Regions from separate parts of the Homo sapiens genome. Here regions 2, 3 and 4 are each linked to region 1. The links are contacts of gene promoters, found by promoter capture Hi-C in blood cells and fetal thymus (Javierre and others, 2016). All regions are on one chromosome and are shown on one strand. Each heading gives the region's core, a stretch centred on a gene start or on the middle of the fragment in contact. The rest is flanking DNA. Distances are from core to core; before and after follow the strand shown.

Region 1 (3,215 bases), core at 417-2,916:
ACAGGCGTGAGCCACCGCGCCTGGCCGATCTTGTGCTAGTTCTTTAGGTACGCATCTTCTCTTCCCTGCTAAACTGTAAATTCCGTATCTGTGTCCAATTCCATTTTTGAACATCCATTGTGTCTAAAACAGTGATTCCTTCCACTAGATTGAATGAACTTGTTCACAGGCACAAGTACAACATAAGCCTAAATCTAAAGGAAATCAGGCTGGCAGTGAGAAAGATCATAACTTTTTAAAAAACTGAATATCTGATTTATTAACTGCTGAAACAGCTTTACCTAGGTAAATGCTTTAAGGATTAAAAATGAATTAAGCAATGAGTTGCTGCCGGGAGCTGTCGTTCTCTCCTGTAATCCCAGTACTTTGGGAGGCCGAGGCAGGCAGATCACTTGAGGTCAGGAGTTCGAGGCCAGCCTGGCCAACATGGTGAAACCCGGTCTCTACTAAAAATACAAAAATTAGCCAGGTGTGGTGGCGGGCGCCGGTAGTCCCAGCTACTTGGGAGGCTGAGGCAGGAGAATTGCTTGAACCCGGGAGGCGGAGGTTGCAGTGAGCCGAGATCGCGCCACTGCACTCCAGCCTGGGGGACAGAGAGAGACTCCGTCTCAACAGAAAAAATAAAATAAAAAAGATAATTTCTCCACAATGATGAAAAATTACGCACAAATAATTATTATTGCTAAGAAATAAGTCAAAAGAGGATAGGAAGGATAACCACCATGGCTTATAATAAATCTGAGGTTTCCTTTAAGCTATAAAAGGAAAACCTTTACGTAAGTTTTTTTTTAAAATCCATATTGGAAGTGCAAGTTTTCCATTGTTTAAAGTATTTTAAGTAAAAGTCCACGTCATAACCTTTGCGTGCAGAAATATGTATTTCATTTTAAATGATTTAGAAATTATCTATAGGTCTACTCTTTTTTCCCTTAAAAAAAAATCTGGATAAACTAGTACAACGTTTCCAGGAAGGCAAAATAAACCAGTTGGGTTCCCCCCAAGTCGCCCACCAGCCTGCAAAAATGGTCACTCGATAAGGACAAAGATGTACTGAACAGGAAGGCTGTCTGTGCCCAGCGGGCTCTGCGCTCTAAAATTAGCAAAAGCAATTACTGTCCCTCTTCTAGCGCGAAGTCGCCGCGCTAATTCCCAAGCACTCACCCACAAACGAGTCGCAGGAGGCGGGGAACAATGAAAACCAGGACGTGCGTGTTCTCTGGCACAATTTGGGAGAGAAACCGTGCTGCCTGGGTCCCAGGCTGGCACGAGCATCGACCCGCAGCCTCCTGGGAGTACCAGAAATAGTGTCCCCCTCCCCGGGCTCGGGACAGGGGACAGGGGACCCCACACCCGACCGGGCCTCTAGCGGGGGCTGCCCTGGGCCCCTCGACAGTTCATCCCTCCAGGGAGCGGCCTGGATCCGCTCGAATCCCAGAAGGGGCCCGATTCCCCTATCCGGGGGCTTAACCGCGACGACCCCTTCCACTTGCGAGGTGCTGCATCAGGACCGAGAGAGGACGGGAGCTCTCTCCTATTTCGGGGTTCAGAGGAGCTTCCGACCGCGAGTTGGCGAGGTTACCTCAAATTCTCCTCACGAAACCGTTTCCCCACCCCCCAGGAGGCGCCCGGGCTCTAGACCGCTCCCAGAGTCGAGCTCCTTGGCAACGGTTGCTAGGCCGTAGAGTTACGTCACTTCCGGGCGAGCGGCCGCTCTCCCGCGCGCGCGCGCACGAGCTGGGGGGCGGGGCCGGGCCAGGGCGGGGAGGACGGGCGCGGGGCGGAGCGGACGGGGCGGGGCGGGGCGGAGCGGACGGGACGGGGCGGGACGGGGCGGGGCGGACGGGGCGGACGGGAGCCGGGCTTACTTGCAAAGCGGGCCCACGTGCTGAGCCACTGCAGACAGCCGAGGGCATTTGGGACTGTTACTCCGACCTAGACGCGCTACAATAAGCTTCCCGAAAGTCCTGCACTTCGCAGTTTACAAAATACTCTCTGCATGATTAACCTATGTTAAATGCGTGTGATGTTTCATTCATTCATTCATTCATGCATGCATGCATGCATTCATGCGCCAAACGTGGGTGATGATTTTTGTTTGTTTTTGAGGCAGGGCTGGGTGGTAGGGGGGTTGGGATGAGCAAGCATTTGGCCAGTGCTTCAAATTTAGGTTTTTGACATAAGTATCTCCAAATTAGGTTATGCATAGGAACAATTGTAGTGAGGCTCTGGCAGGATTAAAAGAAGACACATTCATCATAGAGATTTCAGCTTCTGTGTCACATTACTGGGCCACATTGCCTGTACTGGGAATTAAATTTTTTTAAACCCAATACGTTTTGAGTATGCTGAGAGCCTGAAAGGGGGTGTGGGAGAACTAAGTGTCCTAATGTTCCTTTGGCTTCTGAGTGGGCTCTCTTTAGGTGACTGCAGAAATAAATTAAATCCTCCTTGTGGTCTTCATGGAGTTCACATCCCACGCAGGACGCAGGGAGATCTTTGTGCCCAGTCACTGATGAGGTTTAAAAGTCTACTGGAATTTGCACTAGCTGGTTTGTGGGAGACCTTAGTTGGCAAATGGTATTTTGAACCAACCTCTATTAGACTAGAGACCACGATACTTAGTGATATCAGCTGGCAATGAAAGAAAGAGAAGGAAAAAAAATCAAATTATTGATACCTTGAAAACTTAGTTGCCTGCTCAAACAGCATAGGAGAAACCAACTATAGCTTTAGCATCAGACTTACCACAACAAAAAATAACAGATTACGTATTAGGCATTTCCTATATGCCCTGTACTGTACAGGCTGCTGGAAATGCAGAAGGGCAGGACTTACCTGGCCCCTGCCCTGATGGAGCTGACAGTCTAGTGCCGGCAGAGATTATTAAAGGGGCAACACCAATACAATTGAGATAAATGCTGTAACAAGAGAAGCCAATGATTAGGAGCCCAGATTAAGGGCCTCAAGTTTATTTGGGGAGGGTGGTGCCAAAGGGGCCATACCATCAGGAAAGTTTCTGTCAAATGGAGTGATGTTTAAGGATCAGTAAAAATTAGGCCTGGCACCGTGGCTCACGCCTGTAATCTCAGCACTTTGAGAGACCAAGGCAACAAGATAACTTTGAGCCCAGGAGTTCAGGATCAGCCTGGGTAACAGAGCAAGACCCTTTCTCTACAAAAAATTAAAAGCAAAAATTGGTCAGGGGTGGCACCATT
Region 2 (3,215 bases), core at 475-2,974, 120 kb before region 1:
ATTCAGACCAAGGTGACAATGGGCGGGGGGGATCTGGCACACACTCCCCACTGTCCCCTTCCACAGGGACATCTCCAAACTCCAGGGGATAAAACAGTATAGGAGATGGAGGGAGTGAGCAGGTGGGTAGGAAGTGTGCCGCCCAGGCAGCTCATAGAGACAGGAGAGAGGGAAGGTGGGAGATTGGTGTTTGAATTAACAGGAACTCTAAGACTTTTCTAGAAGTAGATTTGAAAGAATAAAGGGCAGGAATTTGTTTTCTTTTAGAAAAGAGGACTCCTCCAGGAAGGGTCGTCCAGCTTCAGCAAAAGTCTCTCATTGACTAATAAGCCCCTCACTGCCTTGTAGTCTCCTATGCCTCAGGGTAAGGATTCAAGCTTCTCTCCCTTTTATACCCGGTGAGGAAGGCTACCAAGGGGCAGAGAACAGAAACAGCCACCAAGTTCCTGGGCCAAGTCCAGGGCTTCCTGGACTGTATTCAGAGAGCTGTGGCTTTTCTCTACCACTTGCAACAGCTCTTGGTGTCTTTATGTGAGCTGCTTATTAACCAGAGGATATCAGGACACTGGGAGGGCAGAGCTTGTGCTGGTTGCCAGTGAGAGTAATTCAGAAACACAGAGTGGGGCAGAGCTGATGTGTGCAGCCGATGTGACGGACAGAGGTGCCTGGCGGGGTGGAACAGGCTCTGGGCACCGTGCAGGAGCAGCATACTGGAGGGGCCTGTGGCCTATGGGGATGGCCAGGAAAGGCAGGGTCCCCTACCAACACTGCAGGCCACCCCCAGGACGAAGGCATGGCGAAGGGCACTGATGGCAACTGGAGGCCACCTGTTGGAATGGGACATGGCACTGGACCGACACTCCCTTCTCACAGTCACACATGGAGGGAGCCGTTTCCACCTTATGGAAACTCCTCTATCATCCTCCTTTTCCAAAGAGACTGCTTTTCCAGAAAAGGCCCTGAGTAAAAGATTCAAATCCCAGACATCCTCTTCCCTCTCTTCCATAAGCTGCTGATGATAGTCCCCGTCTACAGAGTCAGTGTTGATGGGCTTCACCTGCCAGCTGACCCCTCAGGGTCAAACCAAGGAAGCAGAACACCCATGGGCCCTGAGATGGTTCCTGACACCAGGCCACAGAGCAGCTTCCTGCTGTGTCTAAAGAAACACGGATTAGCCATGCTTTGGCCGGGCTGCAGTGCTATGTGTCTTAGGTTTCAAGCTGGTACCAGCTGCACTGAGGGGAAATGGTTGGGGAAGTTCTCCCGTTTGGCTTCTTTCCACATGGAGGACGGCAAAAGGAAGAGGGAGCTTAGAGCTGCCATGCTGGTACTGATGCCTTAAAAATGATGATATAAACACAGCCACAGGAGTCAGCCTGTGAGTCCCTGATGGGGACCAGAGGAGAAATGTCCTGACTTACCCTTCAGCCCACACTCTGCAAACAGAAGTGACCCAGCCCTCATCTATCACCTCAAAAGCTAAACAACTTCCTCAGACAGCCCCATGGAATATAAATCAGGAGGGCCCTAGCTTCTAAGAAACCAGTACACAACTACAGCCCTCAGAAATACTCATCCTCATCTTCTTTCTTCCTCTCCTTTCAGAATAGGGTGCTAGCAAGTCTTATCTGCAGATGAGGCCAGGCAAGGTGGCTCATGTTTGTAGTCCCAGCACTTTGGGAGGCTGAGGTGGGTGGATCACTTGAGGCCAGGAGTTTGAGACCAGCCTGGTCAACATGGTGAAACCCTGTCTCCACTAAAACTACAAAAATTAGCCAGGCATGGTGGTGCACGCCTGTAATCGCAGCTACTCAGGAGGCTGAGCAAGGAGAATCGCTTGAACCTGGGAGGTGGAGTTTGTAGCGAGCTGAGATTGTGCCACTGCCCTCCAGCCTGGGCAACAGAGTGAGATTCCATCTCAAATGAATAAACAAACAAACAAACAAAATAACTGCAGATGAAGTAGGAGGTCACCTTAAGCATGTTACTCAAATTCTCTGAGCATGGGTCCTCATCTGTATCTATCTCATGGGTTTGAGGTGGGAGGTAAATGAGATCATTCATTCAGTTCTTAGTATAGTACTACCTTGATAAATATCATCATTTCAGCAGCTGAAGGCCATTCTCAGGTATAAAGAAGGAAAAACAACACTTCTATACTAATCCCAAACAAGAAGGCTATATGGGCCAGGGCTTCAGTGATTCATGATGTCCAAGCCTTCTTGCTCCTGCTCTCTCTCACGCCAAGTCTGTGCCAGACCTGGTTGCACTTGGCAACCTCAGCGCCTCCAACTTGTTTGAATTCTCACAGAGAATCCCAATGGGTACTCCGACCTGCTGGCGCAGAGACAAATTCAAACACACTGGGGTGGCAGTGAAATGTAGTATAAGAAATAGTCACAAGGAATGTTCAAGCTCTCAGAATGCCTGCAGAGCTGGGGTTTACACAGAGGGCCCCACTTTTCCAGACAGGCAGGGTAGCGAGCTTACAAATTATTTCCTTTCATGCATACTTTCACGATAGCATCATAACACATGCAATAAACACGTTTGGCTCCCTACTGAACAGGTACAGACACGACAGCTTTTCTGTTTTAAAGCTCCTGAATGCCAAAGCCTTCTCCGCTGCTCTGATGCCCCAAACTTCCCTGCCTGGGAATTGGATCTGGGGTAATGAGTGACCCAGCAGGCAGAGATGACAGATTCCTGCCTAATGTAGCAATGCTGGGACAACCTGGAGTATCTGGTGTGGCGGGCAGGCACAGGCAGGATGGGAGAGGCAGCCGTGAGTACACCAACCTTTGTCCCTGTTTGCTCTGGGAGAGGGCAGGCCCTGCCAATGCTGCTCTCCTCTCCTGGTGCCTCTGCCTGGGGCTCTTGGCTAGTCAAACCTCCCCGGGGACCTGAGACGACCTGACCCTGGTGGGTGGCAAGCCGAGACCTCTTCAGGCAGTCAAAGGGTGCTCTGGCACCTCTGACATGACACAGCAGGTGTGGGGCTTGGAGGCCTGCGTGCTCCTGCCCCCTGAGGAAGCCTCTTTCCTTCTGGCTCCTTCCCAGCTGAAAGCTTATCATTAACTAGCCGCCCAGAAAATGATGACCTACTCCAGGGCACTCCTTGGTTCAATCCACTACAGGGTCCGAGGGAAACACAGAATGACAGTGCAGAGCCTGAGCTGGGCAGTGTTGCGTGCCTTCCTCTTGCCAGCCTTTGT
Region 3 (3,215 bases), core at 499-2,998, 100 kb before region 1:
AGCCTCCCAAGTAGCTGGGACTACAGGCGTGCACCACCACACTCGGCTAATTTTTTGTATTTTTAGTAGAGACAGGGTTTCACCATGTTGGCCAGGCTGGCCTCAAATTCCTGGGCTCAAGTGATTCTCTTGCCGTAGCCTCCCGAAGTGCTAGGATAAGGCATGAGCACCACACCCAGCTGTATTTCTTTCTTTCTTTTTTTTTTTTTCTCCAGACGGAGTCTAGCTCTGTCGCCCAAGCTGGAGTGCAGTGGTGTGACCTCGACTCACTGCAACCCAGGCGGAGGCCTCCTGGGTTCAAGATTCTCCTGCCTTAGCCTCCCAAGTAGCTGGGATTATAGGCACCTGCCACCACGCCCAGCTAATTTTTGTGTTTTTAGTAGAGATGGGGTTTCACTGGGTTGGTCAGGCTGGTCTGGAACTTCTGACCTCATGATCCGCCCACCTCAGCCTCCCAAAGTGCTGAGATTACAAGCGTGAGCCACCGTGCCTGGCCACCCAGCTGTATTTCAATCTTTAAGTTTCATTCCAGCATTGTTCATAAAGTGAAAAACTGGAGTTGATCTAAATGTCCAGCAATTGGAGACATGCATGATTTTAACACACAGATAGATTTAAATGATAACCCTATAAAGTTTCAGTTTGCTCTGTATTTAAAACTACTACTCATTTCTTTCATTCATTTACTGAACATTTATTTTCAGTATAATTCCCTCATCTGGTTGGTTGAGGTTACTTTTAACCATTTAGTAAAGTTTATTCTTTAGGTATAGTAAGCAAACACATTTTTTAAAAAAAGGTACTATAATTTTATAATAAGCACTAAAAATTATTTCATACCATAACTCATAAACAGACATCAATCTGTTTGCTTATATACAATAGGTATATACATGGGTCACACTGCAATATAAGTACTTAAGAGCACAGGTTTTGGATCCTGGCTCTGCCACAATCATTAGTTGTATAATATTGTGAAAGTCTCTCTGTGCTTCAGTTCCCTTATCTATAAAATGCGGATAATTGCAGCTGCCTCATAAGGTTATTGTGAGAGTTATGTTAGTTCTACACATATAAAGCATTTAGGACAGTGCCTGGTACAAATGGAGTGCTCAGTACCAGGTTATTTGCTTGAATCACTCATGATCATGGTCGTGATTAGAGCTTCAGGGAATAAAATTTGTTAAATCTTGCTTTGCATAACTGAAGTTCATAAAAAGTCCTTTGTAAGTCTGCTTCAGTTTCAGAACCAATAACTTAATTAGGTTGTGCTCTAACAATGAAACAGGCTCCCTCATGAGGAGTGAGCCGCATTGCGGGTACACTACTATGGCTGGAAAGTGATTCGCTACATGCGCTACAGAACTGATTTCCACACTGGAGAGAGGTTGGAAGAGATCCCTCAAAGCTCCTGATCTAATAAATGATTATATGAATCATTCTGAGGTTCCTTTCAAGCTCCAAAATTCTATGACTGTTTACCAGGATATCGCATGCAGCATTAAGCAGCCAAGCCAGGAACCTGCTGTTACACTCTGAACTGAGGTGTAAACACATACTTTCACCGAAAAACAAAAATCTTTAATTTCTTCCTGTGCTCGGAATAGTGAATTTCCATAGCAGTAAACCAAGTTTGGTGACTCAAGCCTCTCAGCAATTCTGGAAAGGAAATTGTGAAAATATCGATGTTTGCCAAGAAAGTACTTCCAGTTTGCCAAAAGAGGGAGCATAGGAGCAGAAAGCATATGTTTGTCCAAGTCTCTTAAAAATACTTATTTGGGATCTGTGTTTTATTTTTTGATTTCTTTTGCAAGGATGGGGTGGGGCTAAACAATATTTACAGTCAACTTCTCTTTTTAAGATTATCTTAAGACAGTAGGGTCAAAGATAAAAAATACATAGATAACTTTTAATGATCCCTCTCCATCCCCCGAGACAAAACACTCATCCCAGGCCTGGCTGCCATACGCCAAGCAGCTCTAATTTAAACTGCTCTCATTAAAAGGAAGAGGAAGAGGAGCTAAGCCAGTATGAGTGGAGGAATAATTTACATATTTAATAAAGATACAGCTTTATTTCTCTCCTGGCTGCCATGAATTGTCTAAAAAAGAAAGATCTGTTGCATATGTAATCTACTCCTCACCTGTAGGTGAGTAACAATCAGTAACAATGACGTTACTGATAAAACCAAGTTTAAAGAAAGTTAATCATCAGGATGCTATCTTACCCGTTCCCTGGGGCTAAAGACTCCTTCATGCCAGACAAGATGAATGATGTAAGCACCTAGAATCCTTTGTAGAAACAAGTCATTTACTCACACTCATTAGTCACTAATATAGGGTAGAATGCCTGCATAAGACAAGGCTTCTATAAGACACACACCTGCATACAAAGTCATTTTTCTTTTTCTTTTTTCTTTTTTTTTTTTGAGATGGAGTTTCGCTCTTGTTGCCCAGGCTGGAGTGCAATGGAGCAATCTGGCTCGCTGCAACCTCCACCTCCCAGGTTCAAGTGATTCTCCTGCCTCAGCCTCCCGAGTAGCTGGGATTACAGGCATACACCACCACGCCTGGCTAATTTTGTATTTTTAGCAGAGATGGGATTTCTCCTTGTTGGTCAGGCTGGTCACGAACTCTTGACCTCAGGCGATCTGCCTGCCTTGGCCTCCCAAAGTGCTGAGATTACAAGCGTGAGCCACTGTGCCCAGCTACAAAGTCATTTTTCAATGCAAACTTTGACTTTGCCTTTGTAGAGACAGCTTTGACAAGTTATCAGTTTGCCATTTTTCATATTCAACTCAGAAGAATTCTGCAAATTTGTATATTTTTAGTTTCAGCAATATATTTAGTCTTTTATTTTACTCAAATTATAAAAAGTGCTCTGTATTGTGTTACCTTAAAAAGTTAAGAAACATACTTGGGGCCGGGCGCGGTGGCTTATGCCTGTAATCTCAGCACTTTGGGAGGCCGAGGCGGGTGAATCACCTGAGGTCTGGAGTTCAAGACCAGCTGACCAATATGGTGAAACCCCATCTCTACTAAAAATACAAAAAGTTAGCTGGCCGTGGTAGCACATGCCGGTAATCCCAGCTACTTGGGAGGCTGAGGTAGGAGAATTGCTTGAACGCGGGAGGCGGAGGTTGCAGGGAGCCAAGATCCTGCCATTGCACTCCAGCCTGGGCAAAAAGAGCAAAACTCTGTCTCAAAAAAAAAAAG
Region 4 (3,215 bases), core at 523-3,022, 84 kb before region 1:
TACTCTCTACCACTTCTAGGAGTGGCTCAGAGAACTAAGAAAAATAATTATACAGTCCTATTTCAGTTGCCATCAGATAACTCTGGCAGGAGGGAGCTGAGCATCTCAAGCAAGGTTTTTCAGTTGTTTGTATTAAATAAATCAATGTTTGTAAAGCGCTTAGACTAGGGCTTAGAACTTTGTGTTTATTAAATAAAGTAAATGAATAAATTTACACCTATCTCATAAAGAGATATCTGAGAATAATTTTTTTTTTTTTTTTTTTTGAGATGGAGTATCGCTCTGTCACCCAGGCTAGAGTGCAATGGCGCAATCTCGGCTCACTGCAACCTTTGCCTCCCTGGTTCAAGTGATTCTCCTGCCTCAGGCTCCAGAGTAGCTGGGATTACAGGCGCCTGCCACCACGCCTGGCTAATTTTTGTATTTTTCATAGAGACGGGGTTTCACCATTTTGGCCAGGCTGGTCTTGAGTTCCTGACCTCAACTGATCCACTGGCCTTGGCCTTCCAAAGTGCTGGGATTACAGGCGTGAGCCACCGCGCCCAGCCTGAGGATAATCTGAAAACTGTAACGCAGAACATTATCATGAACTCTCTGTGATTTAAAAATAGATAATTTTTTCTTTCAAAAATCCATCGTGACTTTATTTCTGTAAAACTAAATTCTTAAGGAAGTCTTCCATCTTTAAAATGAATGAACAATTTCCCCTCAAAAACTGTACTATGACCTTTTGAAAACAATGACAGTCATAAACCATGTACAGTACTGAAAGCCTGAATCAGTTAGACACATTTAAAAAAATAAATAATAATTCTTACCTTTCCAAGGTTTTCTTGTTCAGCAGTATTTTTGGTATACTGTTCCCTAGGGAGTCAACATAATGATTTACTTTCAATTTACTTCAAATGATTTGATCATACAAGTGAATTATAAATTAATATATCTATCTAAAATACACTAGGCAATATAGTTTAGGGTACTGGAGTCAGAATGAAACCCATTATAAAATTCTTTGTCTTTCCCCATCTTTAGTTAGTTCTTCAAGTAAATAGTAATTTAAGGAAAAAAAAGAAAGCAAAACATTTAATAGGAAATTAAGATAATTAAAATGTTAAATACTATTTCTGGTTAATCTACCCTCAAAACAATGGCAACCCATCTGCTTAAATTACACATTGTTTTTGAAGAGGTTTGTAGAAAGGAGAAAGGATATACATTTTAAATAAACATTAAGTAGCATGTAATCTTGCAATTCTACTTCTAGGAAGTCATCCTACAAAAATATCCCATAACTTAAATAAACATAAAAGCAGACTATTTATTTCATCAATGCTTATAATAGTGAAAATATGCAAACAAACTAAATGTCTATAGATGGGAAAATGTTTAAGCAAATTATGGCATATCTATTGAAACAAATAATAAGGAGTTATACAAAAGAATGAGGTAAATCTATAAATACTGAAGTGGAAAATATTCTAGATCAAGAGAAAAACAGCATATGTAGTTTAATCTTTTTTTTTTCCTTTGAGACAAGGTCTCACTCTGTTGCCCAGGTTGGAGTGCAGTGGCATGATCACACCTCATTGTAGCCTCCACCTCCCTGGCCCAAGTGAATCTCCCACTTTAGCCTCCCAGATACTGGGATTACAGACATGTGTCGCCATATTGGGCTAATTTTTTTGTATTTTTTTGGTAGACACAGGGTTTTGCCATGTTGCCCAGGCTGGTCTTGAACTCTGGGGCTCAAGCAATTGGCTCATCTCAGCTTCCCAAATGCTAGGATTACAGGTGTGAGCCACTACACCCAGGAGCAGTTTAATCTTATTTTTATATACATATGTATGTATACGTGTGTGTATACACACATACATATAACATTTCCCATGCATTAACTAACACACATATATACAGATGTATCAGCAAACGCATGGGAAAAGAATATGGCTTAATGTACACCAAAGTATTAACAGTAGACATTTCTGAGACATGGCAATAATGGACAGCATTCAACTTCTGTGCACACTACTTCATAATGGTTACTGTTGTTTTTACAAGTATTTCTTTTGTAAGCTAAAAAAAAAATTTTAATGTAAAAATTAAAAACATAATAACATTGTATTTTATTTGTAAACAAAATTATATTTCAATACTATTTAAGACAAAATGTGAGATTTAAAGCAGGTGACATGTTAAGGATAAAGACTGAAGGCTGGGGCTGGGCGCGGTGGCTCACGAGGTCAGGAGATCGAGACCATCCTGGCTAACACGGTGAAACCCTGTCTCTACTAAAAATTCAAAAAATTTAGCCAGGCGTGGTGGCGGGCACCTGTAGTCCCAGCTACTCAGGAGGCTGAGGCAGGAGAATGGCGTGAACCCAGGAGGCGGAGGTTGCAGTGAGCTGAGATCACGCCACTGCACTCCAGCCTGGGCAACAGAGTGAGACTCCGTCTCAAAAAAAAAAAAAAAAAAAAAAAAGACTGAAGGACGAGGGGTAAAGGAACACAGAACAAAGAAGAGACTGTTTTTGTGTGTGAAGCTACGCTGCAGTATTTAAGAAAAAATTAAACAATATAAAATTGGGACTCCAAGAAATCCTAAGCCATAAAAAGAGAAAATACAGCAGTCTAAGTAAAGGAAAATTTTGCAATTAGTCTTGATGAATCCTCATTTTCAGTAGGGCGTGGTGGCTCATGCCTGTAATCCCAGCACTCTGGGAGGCTGAGGAGGGTGGTTCACTTGAGGTCAGGAGTTTGAGACCAACCTGGCTAACATGGTGAAACCCCATTTCTACAAAAATACAAAAATATAAACTACAAAAATACAAATAACAAAAATTAGCCAAACACAGTGGCGTGTGCCTGTAATCCCAGCTACTTGGGAGGCTGAGGCAGGAGAATATGTTTGAACCTGGGAGGCGGAGATTGCAGTGAGCCGAGATCGTGCCACTGCACTCCAGCCTGGGTGACAGAGCAAGACTCCGTCTCAAAAAAAAAAAAATCTGGCTAGAAGACAGATCAGAAAATGAATAGTTCAAGAGCAATTATTTCCTTCTTTGCTATTTATATCGATAACTTTGGAAGAAATAGAACTTAATTTATAAAAATTTTTATTTTTTAAGAACAAATTTAACTTTTCTCATTTCTTATCATTGGCCATATAGATTTATATGAACAAAGTTTACATACAATGAAAGAATATGAATAAGTACATTT

Evidence for each region. Contacts are between HindIII fragments. The CHiCAGO score rates a contact against its expected background, and 5 or more counts as called.
Region 2: a contact is called between a fragment that was not itself captured here and the fragment with the promoter of IFT81 in region 1, in 3 of 17 cell types (endothelial precursors, M0 macrophages and megakaryocytes). The highest score is 9.4, in endothelial precursors.
Region 3: a contact is called between a fragment that was not itself captured here and the fragment with the promoter of IFT81 in region 1, in 2 of 17 cell types (M2 macrophages and endothelial precursors). The highest score is 6.7, in M2 macrophages.
Region 4: a contact is called between a fragment that was not itself captured here and the fragment with the promoter of IFT81 in region 1, in 1 of 17 cell types (M2 macrophages). The highest score is 5.7, in M2 macrophages.

Annotation. Positions count from the first base shown.
Region 1 is chr12:110,122,808-110,126,022 of GRCh38, reverse strand. IFT81 (intraflagellar transport 81) reads right to left here and starts at 1,666. Exons shown (of 19, transcript NM_014055.4): 1 at 1,162-1,666. RefSeq lists a silencer at 1,583-1,852. The HindIII fragment of the contact is 3,777 bases long and covers 1-1,953 here.
Region 2 is chr12:110,247,355-110,250,569 of GRCh38, reverse strand. No RefSeq gene overlaps it. Among named protein-coding and RNA genes, the nearest start is that of ATP2A2, 32 kb to the left of the region's middle. The HindIII fragment of the contact is 2,690 bases long and covers 380-3,069 here.
Region 3 is chr12:110,222,969-110,226,183 of GRCh38, reverse strand. No RefSeq gene overlaps it. Among named protein-coding and RNA genes, the nearest start is that of ATP2A2, 57 kb to the left of the region's middle. RefSeq lists an enhancer at 1,938-2,438. The HindIII fragment of the contact is 7,275 bases long and covers 1-3,215 here.
Region 4 is chr12:110,206,820-110,210,034 of GRCh38, reverse strand. IFT81 (intraflagellar transport 81) reads right to left here. Exons shown (of 19, transcript NM_014055.4): 18 at 819-864. Among named protein-coding and RNA genes, the nearest start is that of ATP2A2, 73 kb to the left of the region's middle. The HindIII fragment of the contact is 7,375 bases long and covers 1-3,215 here.